Regions from separate parts of the Homo sapiens genome. Here region 1 is linked to region 2. Evidence: promoter capture Hi-C in human tissues and cell types (Jung and others, 2019). All regions are on one chromosome and are shown on one strand. The core of a region is centred on a gene start or on the middle of the fragment in contact, and the rest is flanking DNA. Distances in the headings are between cores, read along the strand shown.

What was found. Contacts are between HindIII fragments. The study calls those that stand out against the background at their distance.
Region 1: a contact is called between a fragment that was not itself captured here and the fragment with the promoter of TECTA in region 2, in 1 of the 25 tissues and cell types used here (pancreas).

The regions. Positions count from the first base shown.
Region 1 is chr11:120,914,978-120,918,125 of GRCh38, reverse strand. All of the region lies in intron 13 of GRIK4 (glutamate ionotropic receptor kainate type subunit 4), which reads right to left. Among named protein-coding and RNA genes, the nearest start is that of TBCEL, 110 kb to the left of the region's middle. The HindIII fragment of the contact is 5,965 bases long and covers 1-3,148 here.
Region 2 is chr11:121,099,684-121,103,014 of GRCh38, reverse strand. It overlaps TECTA (tectorin alpha), which reads right to left and starts at 1,772. Exons shown (of 24, transcript NM_005422.4): 1 at 1,573-1,772; 2 at 286-350. The coding sequence starts at 349. TBCEL-TECTA (TBCEL-TECTA readthrough) reads right to left here. Exons shown (of 30, transcript NM_001378761.1): 8 at 286-350. The HindIII fragment of the contact is 17,013 bases long and covers 1-3,331 here.

The DNA of each region.
Region 1 (3,148 bases), core at 220-2,719, 180 kb after region 2:
GTCTCAGACCAGAGTCTGGTGTCTGGCCAAGCCCACAGGTAACATCCTCATCTCTGCTGTGTGGCTGGGGAATCGAGACTAGAGAATTCTTAGAAGACATTAAGATCACATTGTCTGTAGCTTCCTTTCCTGTCTCTGACCCAAATCAATTCCCTACCACCTGTCTCTTCTGCTTAGCAGCAAGCTGATCTCTTAGAAGGCTTTCAGATGCCTTAATTAATACATTTTCATTTCCTTTGCAGACCCTTCACTCCCCTTAACAGCTGGCGCTCAGTGGGGAAGGTGGAAATAATTCCCAAGAACTGATAAGTTTCCCAGGCTGCTTTGAGATGCCCAATGGGGTTTGAAGGAGCTCCCAGTAGGAAGCTGCTAAGGGAGCACTGAACCTAACTGAACTCCAAACCCTTCCAGATCCCCCCGGGCAACTCCTTCCATGGAAAATAACCAGCACAGGGATCTGAGGATGGGCGGGGAAAATTCTGAAGTCTGTTTCAAATCTGTGGCTGACTGTCTCTGGGCCTGGAGACTGCTCTCCCAGAGACAGGGATTTAAGCAGCGCACCTGCACGGGTGACGCTCCGATGTCATTCCTTAGTCCTGCCCTGCTCGGGGCTCCCAGCCATGTACTCACACCTACACTTTATTATCTTACATGCCTGTGCCCCCCTTGCCTTTTACCGCCCGGTCTGTAAGCTTTCAGAGACAGAACCAAACCTGATCTGTTCCTTTACCCCACACCCCAGCACAGTGACTGGCACATAGGTGTTAAATCACTGTCTGCTGATTGATTCATAAATGGAAAGCCTGGCTTTCTTTTCTTTTCTTTCTTTTTTCTTTCTTTCTTTCTTTCTTTCTTTTTTTTTTTTTTTTTTTTTTTTTGAGACGGAGTTTCGCTCTTGTTACCCAGGCTGGAGTGCAATGGCATGATCTCAGCTCACGGCAACCTCCGCCTCCCGGGTTCAAGCAATTCTCCTGCCTCAGCCTCCTGAGTAGCTGGGATTAGAGGCATGCGCCACCATGCCCAGCTAATTTTTGTATTTTTTATCAGAGACGAGGTTTCTCCATGTTGGCCAGTCTGGTCTCGAACTCCTGACCTCAGGTGATCCGCTCGCCTCGGCCTCCCAAAGTGCTGGGATTACAGGCGTGAGCCACCACACCTGGCCGGAAAGCCTGGCTTTCTAAGCCTTGGGTTGATGCAAACCTGCTGAAGGAAGCACTCCCTAGGGGAATGCAAGCGCCCCTTATCTGAAATGCTTGAGACCAGAAGTGTTTCGAATTTCCGACTTTTTCAGATTTTGGAATATTTTCATAAACATAATGAGGTATCTTGGGAATGAGACTCAAGTCTAAACACGAAGTTCATTTCTGTTTCATAGACACCTTAGACACGTAGCCTGAAGGTAATTTCATACAATATTTTAAATAATTTTGTTCATGAAACAAAGTTTTGACTGTTTTTGACTACGACCCTTCATGAGGATAGGTGTGGAATTTTCCACTTGCGGTATCACATCGAAGCTCAACAAGTTTCAGACATTGGAGCATTTCAGATTTTGGATTTTCAGACTAGAGATTCCTAGTATTACCTATGTTACCACTTCACCGTGTTTCAGGCACTGTGTTAGGTGCATAAGGATGTCAAGATGCATAAGACATTGTACTTTCCTTCAAAGAGTTGCCAGTCTTACTTCCACTAGGAATCCATCCTGGTTGTCCCGATTCAGAAGTCATTTCTGCCCCTACCTTCCTAGTCATTTACGATGTACTTTGCTATGTCTAATACAGCACTTATCCTGTATGACCTCATTAAAATAACTTCTGCTCGCATCTGTCTGCCTTTTTAGCTGAAAGGCTCCTAGAGGAAAAGGACCTGACTTCAACTCCTAGCACTCCTGGGCGTTAGCTTCTTGGGGCTCTGTTTTCTTAGTCTGAAAAACGAGGTGGTCATAAGAAGTCCAGTTTCCAGATAAGAGGGTTGAGGACAGAAGTGTCAGCCAAATGTCCCTGTCAAACTGGCCACTCAGAGCCACCTCCTTGTTTACCATTCTCCTGGGCCAACTTATTCCTTCCTCCTCATTCTTCTAGGAGGCTGATGCAGAGAACAAGACGATGCCACCCAAGTCATCCTTTGTTCCAGACACCAGTTCTCACATGCCCCTTTGGTGCAGTGAGAAGAGCCCAAGATTGGGGTCTGAGTCTGGGCTCTGGCCACTTGCTGTGTGTCTGAGCTTGGATTAATTATGGAACTCTCCAAGCCTCTGTGCCCTCATCTGTGGAACAGAGTAATAATTCCTGTCTCATGGGTCATGTAAGGATCAAATTAACTCATGAGTGTAGAGCTTCTACATGGTGTCTGGCCTTGTCAGGAGTTATAGCACCCTGCTTCTACTCCCTTCCCTCCTGGTGGCTCGGCTTTGAACTAGGAAGACATGTGAGCAAGGGTCTGGAGCACATGAGATCCCCATTCAGACCCCCTATAAGCCAAGGGAAGCCAGAGGACAGGGCAAATCAGAAAGCCACAGCAGAGCCCTCCACCGAGCGCAGGTAGGGCATTGGCTGGGCTCGCACGGTTGGCAGCTGCGGCTCCAGAGGCCCAGCGGCAATCTTCTGGGGTGTGCGCACCTCACTCCTGAATGGAGGAGAGGGAGGCCATCAGAGGGAGAGAGGGAGATGAGATGGGAGAGCCCAGCCGCAGCCTGGCAGCCGATACAGACATCTCAGAAGAAAAAAAGGGCGGCTGCAGTCACGAAACTGCCATTATTGCCCTTTTCTCAGGTGAGTGAAAGGACTCCTACTGACAGAAAAGAACCTTTTGGGAACTCACAATGAAGCAGAGTGTTGTGGAGAGAGTGCATGAACATGTTTGTGGCTAAGGTGCAGTCCAGCGCGCTGGCCCCTTTATTTTCAAGTACACCTGTCTGTGAATAATGAGCTGGAGAAGATGGATTTCCTCCCTTCCCAGGTCTCAGTGGGTTGCATGCAGGGATCGCTATGTGGCATGCATCTCTCAAGGAGCCATTGTAGAAAGGACCTTCCCAGGGTCAAACAGCCAATCCCTTCTCCCCTGAGAAGCAGGACGACCTTAACCCATGCTTGAAGGTCTACAGGAAAGGGGAGCTCCCTGCACTCACTGGGTCCCAGACTCAAAT
Region 2 (3,331 bases), core at 523-3,022:
ATGGAAATAATTTTGCGTAATTTTAAAGATCTACTCCACTAGCACAGGGCAAGCTGGTACATACAAATAGTATTTGAAGTTAAATAAGAAAAAAGTGGGAATATAAGTAAACCTCATTTAAAGTTAATGAATTTTACCCTTGATAATAGAATTTAATTACATTTTTCTCTTGTATCTGTAGACACACATGCACCTGCCCTTACAATTGTGGTTCCAATAAAAGTGTCTCTTTATCAATTCAAGAGCATGCTAACTGAGAGCTTTATGGAATTCTGTAGTACTCACCTTGGTGCTGTACAAGTGCGAAGATGAAAGAGACCCAAATTCTAAGGAATGATGAATAATTCATCCTGGAATTTTAAAAAGAAAATGAAAAAAAAATCCCCAGCTTGCCAGAGTAAACAGAACACCAGGTGTGTTTAGTGGCTAATCCCAAGACCATCAAAACCGTCATAGAACAAATTCACATAACAACATCAACAGTGCTGAGTCGGGCTGAAATCCCCTGAATGCTGGCAGGTCCTCCGAAGTTCAACACTTCATGAACAAATTAGATGCCCAGAAGAAGCCAGTCTGGAAGTGTAATGAGATCATTCAAACTGTCAAGTAATTATTTAGGATCAGTGAGAGTGGTATGCGTAAAGGAAAGGTATCCCCTCTGCATCAAATAAAGCGCTGAAAACTAGGACCCAACGCTAAAGATGCATGCAGGTCCCGGGTTGTGTCTCTGCAGCAGAAACCACACCCCAGTGAGACCTGGATTTCCTAATTTTCACTACAGCTTTCCATCAGAATCAAACAAAAGTTGGTTAAAACACAATGTGTTCTACAGCTAGGAGAATTTAGAGTCTGCCATCACCTTCTCCATAGAATGGAGCCGATCCATCATTTTGAAGTATTGACCAGATTCAGGGCCAGTCTACTCTGTTCACTGACTTCCCACAGTGAAATGAATGATAGAAACATTAGTAATAAAAAAGGACCAATCCAGAGTTGGAATCACAATAAAAATAGAATCCAGCGCACAAGCAACCAATTAGTTCCAGCAAGTTAATTAAAGAAGGAACACAGCAAAGAGAAACTTGTTTTCGTGTTAGTTTACAATCGGTTGCATGGTGGCTTTACCCTCCATCAGGAGCATGTTTTGTCTGTGTCACTCTGCAAAGCTGCGATGAGAACACGGACGCAAGCTCAAGTTAGACATCACCCAAGCGTGTGGCTAGACCATGAAGTCTCCTCCTGACAGTATTCTTAAAAAAGAAAAACCTTCCTCTTATCATTTGAAGTTATCACAATTCTTCAGCCAAACTTTCACGGGAAAGGCAATGAATTTATCCTGTGAGAGTTTTATTGCAAATCTTTAGTTGTCAAGTATATATGTTGTAATTTCAAGCACATATTAAATATTAGACAGTTTTGCTGGAAAGGGTACAAAGGTTTAGCAGAGATCACACACAGCTTTAATGGAGAAGATGCCGTGCAAGTTTAAGACTAGAGCCCTTAGGGAACCGGTTCAGAGAGAAGTAAGGAGGATTCATTTAGATATTTGTATTTATGAAAAATGTCACTAACCTGTTCTGTAGAGGCTGGAGGAACTGAGTCAGAAATATTAAGCCAAATCTTGGTAAGCCAGAAAAAATTAGGTAAAACAAGAATTCATGTCAGTTCTCCTCAACTTGTTGCCAATAATTTCTGATTCCTGAAATAATGTCTGAATCTCGTACTCTTAAAACCAAAAATTAAGTTAGTCCTGCACTAGAGACAGGTAAGTGTTGAGCTGCAATCAAGTTTTTTTCTATTGATTAAGGAAAAGTAAATCTAAAGATCAGTTTCAGGATTGCGTAGAGAGGTTCTTTTCCTGAAAAACTAGACCTTTTTTTTTCCCCTTTGAAAAAAAAAGTAGATTCAGATGGAAATGTCAGGTACTTGGAGCTGAAACCTTGGGCCTTTCTGATCAGAATCACTTTGCACTGAAAAACACAAAAGAAAACCCCCCTTCTACCTTTGTACCCAAAAGAAGGCAACTGTATAATGTTACAGAATTAGCATCCACCAGCATGGGATTAAAACTCCAAACAAAGCAGCTGCCTCCAACATTTAAATGAAGTTGGTTTTCTATTAAAGTCTTTTTTTGTTTCTCTGGTTTTCAACAGTCGCCACAGATAGGCTCTACTCTATTTTTTCACAGGTATGCATGAAGTATTTAAAGAAAATTTCCAAACTTTTTAGGTTTTATGCCCTCTCTTTTCTCTCTGATGCACCGCTCTGCAGGAGATAGGACAGGGCACTTTCCAGGCAAAATCTAACAAGGGACCTAGCGCTAGACACGATCTTCCACAAGGGAAATCTCAAACTGTGGCCTGGAAACCTTCCCTAACACCCAGTGAGGGTCACTGGAGGCAGAGGGGGGAGATAAACCCCTTCTGATAAAAAATTTGCAGTAAGTAAATAGTTTAAAAGGCATGTGAATAAGAGGAAAACGTGCTCGGTTAGATGCTTCCAAGCATCCAGTAGATGTGGAATGAGCAAAACTGGCTAAGGCATAAGCTAAATCTACTATTCAAAATGTTTAAATGGAATTTATTAAGAAAGAAGTAACTTGACTGTAGCAGGAAAAAAAAACTCTTCTGCACATCAATGGGAATTTAAAAATTACTGCAAATTTTCTCTGACCAGACATTTAAATGCCAACTGTACAAAAGAAATATAATTCTGGGTTTAAGCATGTTGTCTTAAAATGGACAAGAGTGCTTGGCGAGCTAAATTTTTTTAGTTTAAATTACTCCGTGTTTTTCCAAAAACCTGTGATAATTCAGTAGGTTTCCCACATTGTTTATTCTCTCACTGGTATTATGAATCCTCCACACATATTTACTTACAGATGTTAAATGACTGCTTCTTTCCAAATGACTCACATTTATTTGTTTTTCTTTGGATTCTAGGAGTGCTTAGAATGGCGTATATTTATATAACAGAAAAGCTAGTTTCTTGGGTGCCTATTTAAAATAAAATTAAGTTCAAATCAAAGACTCATTACAGAAGGATTCTCTTTGTCCAGCCTTAGGTTTTAGTCCAGTAGCCAACCTAAATGTCTTGAAGCAAAATCGCTGGCTGTGTTTTAATTAACTGCTGGTGGCATACTAATTGCTTTCTTCCTTTTTCATGCATTCTAGGATATTTATATCACAGCCCTTTTGACCCATGTTGGATGCTCCATCCTTCTTGAGACAGGACTGCTGCCCGGATAAATGCCATCTGGGCATAACCAGATACACAAGATGGTGGCATACATGAATTAGAATGCCTTTGAGAATCCGGCTGCAAGGGAACA